Linked DNA regions of Homo sapiens: region 2 is linked to region 1. Evidence: promoter capture Hi-C in human tissues and cell types (Jung and others, 2019). All regions are on one chromosome and are shown on one strand. The core of a region is centred on a gene start or on the middle of the fragment in contact, and the rest is flanking DNA. Distances in the headings are between cores, read along the strand shown.

The links. Contacts are between HindIII fragments. The study calls those that stand out against the background at their distance.
Region 2: a fragment that was not itself captured here is called in contact with the fragment with the promoter of TFDP1 in region 1 in 1 of the 25 tissues and cell types used here (lymphoblastoid cells).

Annotation. Positions count from the first base shown.
Region 1 is chr13:113,581,382-113,588,288 of GRCh38, forward strand. TFDP1 (transcription factor Dp-1) reads left to right here and starts at 3,372. Exons shown (of 12, transcript NM_007111.5): 1 at 3,372-3,507; 2 at 4,393-4,468. The coding sequence starts at 4,457. RefSeq lists enhancers at 1,221-2,194, 2,195-3,166, 5,144-5,744 and silencers at 3,135-3,464, 3,835-4,204. The HindIII fragment of the contact is 44,568 bases long and covers 1-6,907 here.
Region 2 is chr13:113,257,841-113,264,747 of GRCh38, forward strand. CUL4A (cullin 4A) reads left to right here. Exons shown (of 20, transcript NM_001008895.4): 19 at 2,767-2,919; 20 at 5,647-6,907. The coding sequence ends at 5,742. It overlaps MIR8075 (microRNA 8075), which reads left to right and starts at 5,080; the gene lies at 5,080-5,159. The HindIII fragment of the contact is 6,677 bases long and covers 1-5,822 here.

The DNA.
Region 1 (6,907 bases), core at 2,122-4,621:
TGTGTCTGGGGGTGGTGGGGGGACTTAGGAGTGTTGATCTGTGAGAGCAAAGGAGAGCCACACGGGACAGACCTGGAGGTTGGGAAAGCGCACAGATTTTCCTGTGTTTTATGATACACTCAAATACACAGAGCAAAGTTTTCTAGAGATGCCTTTATTGACATTTTACTAAAGATCAAGAAAATGCCATTTACGCATATCCAGGAATATTATTTTTTAACTTTCCCCATAAATTCCATGAGTCCCTGCCTCCTGCTTGTCCTCCCACTGAAGGCCTCTTGCCATAGTGATGGAAGAAGGCAGAAAATAGGAGATGGTTGGAGAAAAGACCAATGTCATCGAGGAGGGAAACAAAAGACAATCTGGATATGTAATCAGCAGATTTAGAATTAAAACAGGGTTAGAAAATTCTCTCTCTCTGAAAGAGAGGACAGTTTAATGGGGGTGTGGAATTGGTGGGGAGAGTTTGCACCATGCCTGGAGACTCTGGAGCAGACACACACACAGCTTTTGCGAGATGAAGACTTTTCCTGGGAAGGACACGTTCACTTCTAGTAAAACACAGCACAGGCCATTTCCATGTAATATTTGGGACGGTAGCTGAATCTGGTGCCCACATGCACAAAACAAGACAGTATCTGGCCCCAACCATAGGGCTGAACCCAGCCTCTGGCATGTGGTGCAAGTCAACACCTGAACGAGTGCATCATTCAAAGAACCCTATCTCCTAAACAGCCCAGGCTCCAGAGATACAGGGAGGCCAAAGGCTTAGATAAATTCCGAGGGTTATGGGCTTATTTAGGAAGTTTGCATTTCAGCAACCCAATCGAGAGACTGCAAGGCAAGGCAGTGGCTAAAAATATTTGGATCATCAACCAAAATTTTAGAGGGAATTCTGTTAACTTTTGTTAAGAGAAACGAGGGCTTTCTGTGGAACATGTGGCTATGGAGAGGAAAAAGGGAGTAACTTTTTGCCCTTTTCCTAAGCCACACAGAGCACCGTGAGCATTCATTGCCGCAGTGCCTCGTGCGCGTTCGGAGTATCTCAGTACAGTGATTTTTGTGCAGAAACTTCTTTGAATAATATTAGTTATCAGCCATATAAACATTGTTGAATTATCAGAATCCTGAATTTGTGGGGAAGACGTTTAAGACCCCAATTTTGGACCCTACGTGTGTATCCTCCTAACTGGAGCCCCCAGGTCTCAGGGAGAAGTCCCCAGAGGCTGGGAGGGTGTCACTGTTGCCATCAGGGCTCAAATACTGACATTTAGGAACACATAAAGAATCCCTGTGAAACAGAAGGAACGGACCTAGGAAGATAGGGCCATTTGAGGAACATCAGTGTTCTCTAAGTATCTATTTGTGTGAACCAGCTCGCAGAAAGTGAGCGTTTCTGGTAGTCTTCAAAGAAGAAACGGGTGCTAACTTGTAAGCAGTTTAAGCCAAGTGACCAGAGCTTTAGGGGGTGCGGCGTTGCCTGAGGGGCAGGAGTGGCCAAAATCAGCATAAAACGTGCAAAGTGGGCTGTCATGTAATAATACACCGCACAGGCAGAGAGGCCTTTGGTCAGCTCCTCAAGTCCTCTGTAGATGTTCCTTACCCTCGGCGCGCACCAGCCTCTGCCGCCTGCTGTGGCCCTGAACTTCGGACTCTTCTCTGGCCTAGCCCGCCCTTGGCTGGGGTGCTCGGGCCTGGCCCTAGCGGCGGGGCCCTCCAGGGTGGATTAAGTCTCCAAGACTCCGGGACCACCAGGCTCACCATGCAATGAAACTGTTTCTGGAGTTTTCCTGTCCCTGCTTTCCCTCCCGAGTCCCGGGCCAGGCTGCGTCCGGTGGGCACCGAGGACGCCCAGAATTGTTGGGAATCTGGGCGGAGGCCCGTCGTGGGCTTGGAGGCCACCGGGTCCAGCAGAGGCAGAGGCCTCTGTGCCACGCACGCACACACACCTGCTCTCCTCCGTGTGTCCACATACACACGTCTATGCACACACCTGCTCTCCATACATGCACAGCCCCACACACAGTCGGCCCTTTATGTGCACACACACTCGTGCACACAAGCGGCCCCCTCTCCTCCGTGCATACAGGCGCACACACAGCTGGCTCTCCTCTTTGAGCACACACACTCAAGCACACACCCGGCCCCGCTCTTCCAAGTGCACACACACTCCTGCACACACTAGTCCCTGCTCCCCCCCCCACACTCGCGCACACAGCCGGCACTCTCTGCTCCCTGCACACAAACACACATCCTGACATACCCGGCCCCCTACCTGCTGCCCCATGTGCACACACACTAGTGCACACACCAGTCCCCGCTCCCTCACATGCACACACACTAGTGCACACACCAGTCCCCGCTCCCTCACATGCACACACACTAGTGCACACACCAGTCCCCGCTCCCTCACATGCACACACACGAGTGCACACACCAGTCCCCGCTCCCTCACATGCACACACTAGTGCACACACCAGTCCCCGCTCCCTCACATGCACACACTAGTGCACACACCAGTCCCCGCTCCCTCACATGCACACACTAGTGCACACACCAGTCCCCGCTCCCTCACATGCACACACACGAGTGCACACACCAGTCCCCGCTCCCTCACATGCACACACACGAGTGCACACACCAGTCCCCGCTCCCTCACATGCACACACACGAGTGCACACACCAGTCCCCGCTCCCTCACATGCACACACACGAGTGCACACACCAGTCCCCGCTCCCTCACATGCACACACACGAGTGCACACACCAGTCCCCGCTCCCTCACATGCACACACACTAGTGCACACACCAGTCCCCGCTCCCTCACGTGCACATGCACTAGTGCACACACTAGTCCCTGCTCCCCCACGTGCACACACACTCTTGCACACAGCCGGCCCCGCTCCCCCACGTGCACACACCAGCTCCCGCTCCCCCACATGCACACACACTCGTGCACATAGCCGGCCCCGCTCCCCCATGTGCACACACACTCTTGCACACAGCCGGCCACCTCTCTCTCCGGACACACACAGTCAGAGGCGCGCACAAACACAGTCCCTTGGCCGCCGAGCGCACGCCGCGCGCGCGCACTGCCCGTCCCGGCGCAGGCCCCAGCTACATCTCCGCACGCGCACGCGCACACACGGACACGCGCGCACAGCCCCTCCCCGCTCTCCCAGGGCGCGCAGCACTGGCGGGAGGAGCGGGAGACCGAGGAGCAGCAGAAGAGGAGGAGGAGGGCGCCGAAGGCGCGAAAAGGCGCGCAGGCGCGCTGCGCGGAGCGGGCCCGCCGCCGCCCACGTCACCGCGCCGCGCGCACGTCACGCCGGCCCGACGCTCGGCCAGGGTGAGCCCCGCGTCCCGGCGCCACTCGGCCCAGGGCAGGGACCCCGCCACGGCCGGGACCGCCCGGCCCGGCCCCAGCCCGCGCCTCTCCGCGCCGCCCCGCGCTCCGCACCGCGCCCTCTCCGCGTCCCCGCCCGCGCGGCCGGACCGGGCAGCCAGGTGCGGGTGGGCAGGGGATGCCGCGGGAGCCGCGGGCGGGAGCCGGGGGTGCGGGCGGGACCCCCGGCCACCCCATCCCTTGCCCCGGCCGCGTGTAGGCGCCGCGCGGCCCCGACCCGCGCCCTCCCGCGCCCTGCGCGCTCCTGTGCCTCGGGGACCCCGCGCGCTCGGCGCTGGTAGGGGCTCCCCAGGTGACCGCGGGGCGGGGGTCCCGGGCCCGGCCCTCCCGGCCGACAGCAGCGTCCGCGCCCCACGCTGGAGGTGGGGCCGGGGCCGGGGCCGGGGCTGGGGCCAGGGTCGGCCGGAGCGCGCAGGGCGGGGGAGGGGAGGCCGCCCCACGGCGGCCCGCGGGGACCCGGTTCCGGCGCGCGCGGGAGGCGCCTCGTGCGGAGGCGGCCCGAGGCCTAGTGACAGGCGCGCGGCGCGGACCCCGGAAGCCCACCTGTCAGAGTTACCGGTCAGCCGGGCGGGCGCCGCCGGGGTCTGGGGTGGACGCCGCGAGCCTGCACGTTGCGCCGGGACCCCGGGGCTGTGCCCAGGTGGGTGGTGGGGCACCCCCCTGCAGCGGCGGGAGGGAGGCGCTGCGCCCTGGCTCCTGGGGCTCGGCCCCACCCTCGGCCGCTGGGCGGGCCGTCGGGGACCTGGGGGTAGTGGTGGTGACCCTGCGGGCCCGCGGGCCACTTTTCCGCAGGGGGCATTTCCGTCTGGCGAGGCGACTGAAAATCCTGAGTGTGGGAGTCGGTTTGGCCAGCTCCGCTCTCAGGATGGAGGGTGCCTTTGGGAAGGAAGGTCCGCGTTTCCTTTGAGATGTGTTATTTTTTAAACTTCGTTTTTCATTCTTACTTATTTCTTGTTTTTCCTTACTTTTTTTTTTTTTTTTACCAGAAAAATCATTTTTCTTCTCTGGGAAGGTGAACATTTGTAGCATTGATTTCCCGGATCTGGTAACATGGCAAAAGATGTAAGTATGTTTGCTTCATGCTGCACACGAATGTTTGCCTCGCACTAAATTCTTTGTAGTTCTCTGCCTTTATTTCAGAATGACAACACATAAGCTACAGTAGTGTTTATTTTCAGACTTTTAAAGCGTCTGAAGCGGGATGAAGGTGAAAGATGGAAGGATCTGATCTCTGAAGCTGCGGTCACCACCCACAAGTTGTGGCCTTGGATACCACACTGCAGTTGGGTGGTGATGGGGTGGTGCCTTCTGACTTTTTCCTTATCTTTACCGACTGTGTTAATTGATAATTTTAAATAAACGCCTTAATTAAATTGAGGTGGAGGGTGTTGCAGCACCGCAGCGAATCCTGCATTTCTTGGGGGGCTTCCACATGAGACGCTGGACGGGGGCCAGGCTCAGGGCTCAGGCTGTAGCCACCTGCTGGCACCTGTCTTCCTACAGAGGAAGTTAATTCCACTTGGGTGGACCAAGAGCTAAGGACTTGTTTTGGCCACTTTTTTTCTCAGAAGGATGAGATTTCCTGATTTATGAAATCTGGTAAAAAATGCTACTTAGCCTGCTTTGCAGTTGTCATGAAACTATAGAATATTTTGAAAATTTTTTAAAGCCAGAAATTTAGTCTATTTTATTGGTGTGCGGTTCTTTACCGTGCTTGGTTATGTCAGTCACTGAAACACCAGCTGGATTCTTTAGTGTTTCCCACCGTGCATCGTTTTGTAACTGAGTGAAAGGTGCTGTTGATGTGTTTACCTACTTACCGCACAGAGTTGGAAAGAGTCCGCACATGCTGCCTCTGCCTGAGATACATCTGTAGCGAAAATGCGTCCAGAGTGTGGAGCCCTCTCCGTTGGCGCAGAGGTTTCAGTGGTCCCTGCGAGGCCTTTTGGGGTGTCTGCCCTCCCTGACCTGCGACCAGGCATGTCACACGGCATCCCTGCCTTCAAGCACTGGGGTCCCCTTTAGAGAGGGTGTGTGAGCACCCAGGTGGACCCAGTGTGAGTTTTTGAAGTCATATCTGGCTGTGCTGCGAGACTACTTTTATCCTCTCCACTGTGCTTGTCCGTACCATGCCCTGACCTCGTGCGGGCATGCACTCAGAATGCCAGATGTGGGCATGTGCTCAGCGCGCAAGCCATGTTCATTACATCTCCTCATGGTGAGGAGCTGGACCCAGGGCCTCGGTTAGAGCACGCTTCTGGTGTTGTGTGGTTTCCTGTGTGGTTTCCTCAGATGGTTCTCAAACACGCTTTGATACATAATGGATGGTGTTTTCGGGGCCCTCTTTCATTCCCCCGTGATTTCACTGGCACTGTCTGTGAGCAGCATGTAGTGTGAGGCTGGGGGTGGGGGGCGTGTGGAAAGGTGGTCCGGCTCTGCAGGACCCTGAATGCTCCATCCAGTGTGGGCACCTGAGACGCAGCATTTGTCAGGAACTGCATAGGCACAGGGGCTGGGGGCTCACCTTGCACTCAGGGGTTGTGATCTGAGTTGGGGGTTGGCGCTGGGAGGAGAGTAGGATTCTGCAGCTGGTGAGGCCTTCCCTGCTCAAAGCCTGGGAGTGGTCAGGAGTGCTGGGTCTGGATGGAAAGTGAGGTTGTGAACAAGTCAAGGAATTTGATGTTTTCGCTAGCTCTTTTTTTTTTTTTTTTTTTTGAGACAGAGTCTCACTCTGTCTCCCAAGCTGGAGTGCAGTGACGCGATCTTGGCTCACTGCAACCTCTGTCTCCTGGGTTTAAGCAATCCTCTCGCCTCAGCCTCCCGAGAAGCTAGGATTACAGGCATGTGCCACCATGCCTGGCAAATTTTTTTGTATTTTTAGTAGAGATGGGGTTTCACCATGTTGCCCAGGCTGGGCTCGAGCTCCTGACCTCAACAATCCACCCGCCTTACAGGCGTGAGCCACCGCGCCCGGCCTAGCTAACTCTTTTAAGTAGAGGTGTGACATTTGAGTTTTGAAAAGATGATGTTGGCAGCTTTTGCAGAAGGGAACATCGATAACCAGTTAGGTGTTTTGTTTTTGTTTTTTGAGACGGAGTTTTGCTTGTTGCCCAGGCTAGAGTGCAATGGCGCGACCTCAGCTCACTGTGACCTTGGCCTCCTGGGTTCAAGCAGTTCTTCTCCTCAGCCTCCCAAATAGCTGGGATTACAGGCGCGCCACCACACCCAGCTAATTTTTTGTTAGTAGACACGGGGTTTCACCATGTTGGCCAGGCTTGTCTTGAACTCCTGACCTCAGGGGATCCACCCACCTCGGCCTCCCAAAGTGCTGGGATTACAGGCGTGAGCCGCTGTGCCCAGCCCACCAGTTAGGTTTTTAAAAGCACTGGTACTGCAGTAAAACCACAGGTGTATGTCAAAAGCCTTTATGCTGGGGGAAAGCTGTGCCACTTGGGTTGAAGGAGGCAGGCCTCCAGCTTCTAAGTGCCCTGGGGCCTCTGT
Region 2 (6,907 bases), core at 1,234-3,733, 320 kb before region 1:
TAGTATCTGAAAACAGTCTAACTGCCCCCATCCTTTCCAAAACCAAATTTAAAATATCATCCTTGAACAAGTTATTTGAATTATCACCTTATTATGTATCAAATTCATATAGGTCAGTTTCTCAATTCTCTTCTATAAATTCTGTGTCTATTTCATAGCCAGCCATTTTTTTTGTTTTGTTTTGTTTTGTTTTTTGAGACAGTGTCGCCCAGGCTGGAGTGCAGTGGTGTGATCATAGCTCACTGCAGCCTCAACCTCTTGGGCTCAAGCGATCCTCCCACCTCAGCCCCAGGCATATGCCACCACGCCCAGCTAAATTTTTGTATTTTTTGTAGAGATGAGGCCTTGCCATGTTACCCAGGCTGGTCTTGAACTCCTGGGCTCAAGCAGTCTTCCTACCTTGACCCCCCAAAGTGCTGGGATTACAGCCGTGAGCCACCGTGCCCGGCACCAGGTTCTTTTAATTAATGTAGCTATTCCTATAACTTTATTCTTCCAATGAACTTGACAATAATTGTATCACGCCTTTGCTCCCCCAAATAAGAACATTGACATTTTTAATCCATATTGCATTAATTTACAGAGCTTTTATCTTTATCATATTAAATCTTGTGATTCATACATATGTGTATATATGTAAATACATACAAATCTTTTTCTCAGAGCTTTCTAGTTTTCTTCTGTAAGTCTTGCATATTTCTTGCTAGTCATAAATTTTCATTCATTCAACAAATACTTATTGAGCATCTGTGGTGGCCCAGGTCCTCTGTGAAGCACTGAGAATTCATCCATTAACAATAAAGAATAAGTCCTTGTTTCTAGGAGTGTTCAGTCTTTTCCAGCAGAGAGGTAGCAGAGGATCACACACATTGACTAACTTGTAAGAGTGGAGGAAAATGTTAGGATAGAGAAGTGCAGGAGAGTCTAATTAAATACTGTCGTCAGCCAACGCTTTCCTGAAGAAGTGACTAGCTTTGCTCAGGAACTGAAAGAAGGCCTCTGGCTGCAGCATCGTTGCCAAAAGGGGAAGCTGAGCCAGACAGGCCTGATCAGGGAGCCACAGCTGGACCCTCTGAAGATGGCTCAGATCCATGAAGCATTTGGAAAACCACTAGAGTTTTAAGCAAGACAGGCTAATGAAATGCTGATATCTTATAAAGGGGACCTTTTTTCTTTACATTTCTGACGGTTTTTATCAGAATGTATGTATTAATGCTATTTGTCTTTGTATATTTATTTTATTTCCAGCCACTTTACAAAACTCTTTAGCTTTGAAAGTTTTTCTGTTGATTTTCTTGGATTTTCCAGCTCATCTACAAATAATGATCGTTTTGTCTGCACCTTTTCAATATACCTCTTTAGTCTGTTCCTGTATTGCATAGTTAGAACCTCTAAAGTAATGTTTTTAAGGAATAGCAGTGCAGCTGAGCTTCCTAATTTTATCTCTAGTTCAGAGGATGTTAACTTTTTGGGGGTCATGGATCCTGTTGAAAATGTGATGAAAGCTTGGAGTCTCTCCCATCCTGAAGCATACTTGCCTCATATGTATGCACAGACCTTCCCCCAGCCCTCATTTCAACTGCAGATCCCCATCAGGTTCCTGTTGGACTAAGGTTAAGTTGTCTCTAGTATTTGCTGTTTGTTTCTGATAACCATGTTTTATCATGTTCAGATGCTTTTTTATTCATCCTTGTATGCTAATGTTTGTTTTAAATCAAAAAATCAATTTTATCATGCCTTTTCAGCATCTATCAAGATGGTCATGTAATCTAACCTTTCAACTGCTACAGTGCTCTCACTTATATTCACAGATTTCCTAATGTTGATCAACACTTAACATTTCTGGAATATATCCTGATGGTCATTATGTTTTGTTTACTGTGCTGCTAGTTTTAATCTACATCACACATAGAGTTGTTGCAGCTTTCTTATAAGGAAAATAACTTTTAAAAATATTTTTTAAGTTTTGGTTTTGGAGTTTTGCTATTCTGGGAAGGTACCTTTTACTACAACAAGTAAACATGCATAATAAAGTAGGATTCATCCAATGTCTGACCTTTCTTTGCATCAAAAGAACATTTCCGGCCAGGCACGGTGGCTCACGCCTGTAATCCCAGCACTTTGGGAGGCCGAGCCAGGTGGATCACGAGGTCAGGAGATCGAGACCAGCCTGGCTAACATGGTGAAACCCTGTCTCTACTAAAAATACAAAAATGAGCCGGGCATGGTGGGGGGGCACCGTAGTCCCAGCTACTTGAGAGGCTGAGACAGGAGAATGGCGTGAACCCGGGGGGCGGAGCTTGTAGTGAGCCGAGATCGCGCCACTGCACTCCAGCCTGGGTGACAGAGTGAGACTCCGTCTCAAAAAAAAAAAAAAAACCATTTCCCATCAAATTCGGTAACATCAGGTCATTAATATTGAAATATAGGCCAGGTGTGGTAGCTCACACCTGTAATCCCAGCACTTTGGGAGGCCAAGGTGGGCGGATCATCTGAGGTCAGGAGTTCAAAACCAGCCTGGCCAACATAGTGAAACCCTGCCTGTACAAAAATACAAAAAGTAGCCGGGCATGACAGCAGGTGCCTGTGATCCCAGCTACTCGGGAGGCTGAGGCAAGAGAATCGCTTGATCCTGGGAGGCGGAGGTTGCAGTGAGCCGAGATCACACCATTGCACTCTAGCCCAGGCAACTGAGTGAGACTCCATCGCAAAAAATAAAAAGAAAATACAGTTTTACACTTAACTTTTTTTTTCTTTTTTATACAGGTTGAGGAACAGGTTAGCACCACTGAGAGAGTGTTTCAGGATAGACAATATCAGATTGATGCTGCTATCGTCAGAATAATGAAGATGAGAAAGACTCTTGGTCATAATCTTCTAGTTTCTGAATTATATAATCAGCTGAAATTTCCAGTAAAGGTAAATGTAACATTAGCATAATTAAATTTGTAGTATTTGCTAAACAATTGACAAAGCATGTTTAATTCTATGTTCAGTCATATCATTTGACCTGCATTATTCATGGTGCTTTGTGTATACACTGAATGTAGAAAAACTGGCAAATGTGAAGCTCTTTATTCCAGGTGTTGCTCATTGCCACTGCAGAAATGATAGAGCCCTAAAACTCTCCTTCCCAGGGATGGTGCGCGCTTGTTCATATTTTCAGGAAGGGAAGAGGTAGATGGGACATGGAAAGCTGAACACTTTTCTCATAGTAGTAGCGGTCAAGGTTACATCACAAGATTTTAAGGAAATGATAACAATAACTAACTTACTCAGCGTTTACAGCCTACACCGCGTTTTCCACCACGGTAATAGTCTACTGTTGCTGTTGCTTATGAAAGTCAGCCCAGGCCTGTCAACCCGCGTTGTTTTCAGAACTGAGATTTACTGTCCTGCCACGTGTGGGATGCAGGATAAGCCGGGAAAGTATTATGAAACGTTTTTTACATGTATTTATCAACCCAGGAAATACTGAACTCTGATGACGCCTGGCCTCTCAGGGACAGGACCGGCCACACGTGCTTTGGAGGGAAAGTCCCCAGATTCCATGTTGTGCAGTTTGAGCCTCCCATTCCATCAAGGGAATAAAGTTGAGATGCACTAAATAGTCGAACACTTAAGAGTCTGGTGGAAGTGCCACTGTCCATCAGCCCACATTTGCCCCCTTCCCTGCAGAGGTGAGGTGCCGTCCTCAGGGCCCTGGGAAGCTCCAAAAGCACCATCAGGTTCACTGCCCCTTCCTCCCACCAGCTGGAGCAAGTCTCCTGTTGCCACTGCAAACAATCAGGCCCAGCGCGAAGCAGAGGTGAGCAAGAGTGGAGTGTGGCAGACCAGGGCACCTGCTCTGCTCTCGGGTAGAGAGTGGCAGACCAGGGCGCCCACTCTGCTCTCAGGGGTAGAGTGTGGCAGACCAGGGCGCCCGCTCTGCTCTCGGGTAGTTGGGTTTTTTTTTTCTTTGAGATGGAGTCTTGCTGTCCCCCAGGATGGAGTGCAGTGGCACGATCTCGGCTCACTGTAACCTCTGCCTCTCGGGTTCAAGCAGTTCTCCTGCCTCAGCCTCCTGAGTAGCTGGGCTTACAGGCACGCGCCACCACACCCAGCTAATTTTTGTATTTTTAGTAGAGACAGGGTTTTACCGTGTGGTCAGGCTGGTCTCAAACTCCTGACCTCGTGATCCGCCTGCCTCAACCTCCCAAAGTGCTGGGATTACAGGCGTGAGCCACCGCGCCCAGCCTCAGCCACATCTTGTAAAATGTGTGGCTTATCACTGAATAGAAGGTGAAGTTTGTTTGGAAAATAGAGGGTCTCCCTTGTATAGGGAGAGCCTTGCACGTAAGTGCTCACACAGATTTTCTTCCTAATACAGCAGAGCTGGAGTGGCTGTTCCCTCTGGGCAGAGACAGGCTGTGGCTGTGGATTCGTCTCCTCAGTCACCTACTCTTAGTGCAGGAACACTGGGGATTGTAGTTTCACTTACGTGGACATGGCATGCAATAACTATGTAAATACACGAGAATAAAACTACAGGCCAGGCGCACTGCCTCACGCCAGCGATCCCAGCACTTTGGGAGCTGAGGCAGGCGGATTGATTGAGCCCAGGAATTTGAGACCAGCCTGGGCAACATAGTGAGACCCCTTCTCTACAAAAAATAAAATTAGCCAGGCATGGTGGTGTGCAGCCTGTGATCCCAGCTACTGGGGAGGCTGAAGCACGAAGATTGCTTGAGTCCAGGAGGTGGAGGCTGCAGTGAGCTGAGATCGCACCACTGCACTCCAGCCTGGGCGACAAAATGAGACCCCATCTCAAAATAAATAAACAAAATAAAATACACTACTTAGGCAGAAGCATCCTTTCAAAGGATAAAAGTTGCCCCAGTAAGACATGTTGAGATTTTCCTTTCAAATAAAAATGTGTCACGTGATCGGGTCTGCCTCACTTATACGTGCCCTTGCTGATGGCAGATGTCGGATCTGCCTCGCTTATACGTGCCCTTGCTGATGGCAGATGTCGGATCTGCCTCGCTTATACGTGCCCTTGCTGATGGCAGATGTCGGATCTGCCTCGCTTATACGTGCCCTTGCTGATGGCAGATGTCGGATCTGCCTCGCTTATACGTGCCCTTGCTGATGGCAGATGTCGGGTCTGCCTCGCTTATACGTGCCCTTGCTGATGGCAGATGTCGGGTCTGCCTCGCTTATACGTGCCCTTGCTGATGGCAGATGTCGGGTCTGCCTCGCTTATACGTGCCCTTGCTGATGGCAGATGTCGGGTCTGCCTCACTTATACGTGCCCTTGCTGATGGCAGATGTCGGATCTGCCTCGCTTATACGTGCCCTTACTGATGGCAGATGATGTATGTACATTTCACAAGTTTCACGTTTCCCTCAGGAAACCACACTCTGACCATAAACTCACATGGACGCTTTTTTTATCAAGAGATAACGTTAACTTTGTCTTTAAAATAGAAAGTTTTGTTCATTTCATAAATATGTGTATAATTATAAATGATTTTCATATAAATATCTATTTGTATATATATTTCTATAAGTATAGTTACATACTTCATGCATATACCCCTTGTATGTAAATGTTTGTAAATTTAATGCCATTGTAATTAGGGGGGTTTTATTCTTCTTTTTTAGCCTGGAGATTTGAAAAAGAGAATTGAATCTCTGATAGACAGAGACTATATGGAGAGAGACAAAGACAATCCGAATCAGTACCACTACGTGGCCTGACGCATCTGCAGACGGTTCCCCTTCATGAAACACTAGAATGTACCCTCAGAGCAGGAAGCACACCTGTGCCATTTCTGGGACTCTGATTGATCCAGCTGTGGACATTGGAAGGCGAAGGAAGGGAGGTGGCTCCTGGGTCATCTTTCACAAGGCTCAAGACTTCAACCTGCAGATGTATCTTTTTCCCTCCAGTTTTTCCTCTAGTTCTTTTAGGCATTTAAATTGTTTCTGTTACTCTGTGCAAAATAACTTTGAGATTGGACAAGAAGATGTTACTAAAGAGAAGTTCCTTTAAAAGGTCTTGTTCTTGTGTCAAAAAGCTGCAAGTTTGGTTTGTTCTCGTGTGTGATCATGAGTGCACAATGAAGAAGACCCTAGATGCTGCATTTTTTAGCTCTGAAGATTCCTTAGGTATCCCTGAAGACAGCTCGCTCAGATGATCAGCATTTAGAGTGAAAACAAGGGCCCTTCATGGGTGAACATTAGAAAGAGCCAGGGTTCAAAGCTGGCGAATGGATGACGCACCCTAGCCACTGGCCCCTCTCTGTTTCATGTATTTCCAAAAGTTGTAAACTTTGATGGCTGATTTTTCGTAAGTCAGGTTTCTAAGTGAGCTCCCTGAGGTGCCAAGGCCATGGTGTCCGCCCTGCTGCGTCTGTTCGTCAGCTGAGTTCCTTGTGAATCTCTGTTTTAGGGTTTGGGGCTAGTGTGTTTGTGTTTCCATTCTAAGATTGAGTCTGGCAGTCCCTGTTTTTTTGCATTGGGGTAACTGCTCTTTGATTTTTTTTAATTGCAGTATTTGTGTGATTGCAATAATAAAGTTTGGTTTGGTTTTTACAGTCATGCGCAGGGACGATCCTTGTTCTCTGCTGTAAACTGTAAAAAGTTTATGGAGACTTAAAGTCTTGATGTTGTGAAGCAGAGGTTATTTTGTGGAAAGATTAAAAGGATTTTGTTGGTACCTGGTTTTGTGTTGTGTATATATACATGAGGTTGAACAGTGAAAGGAAAGTTCAGTAGTGATGTTAGAAGGGTAACTATGACAAAGATACTTTTGAGATAACATTTAAAAGTACTTTATATTTTACATAATAGCATGTTTCATTTTGATTAAAAGCTACCAAAGGAATTTTGATCATGGCATAAGTGTTTAAAGCAATATTTT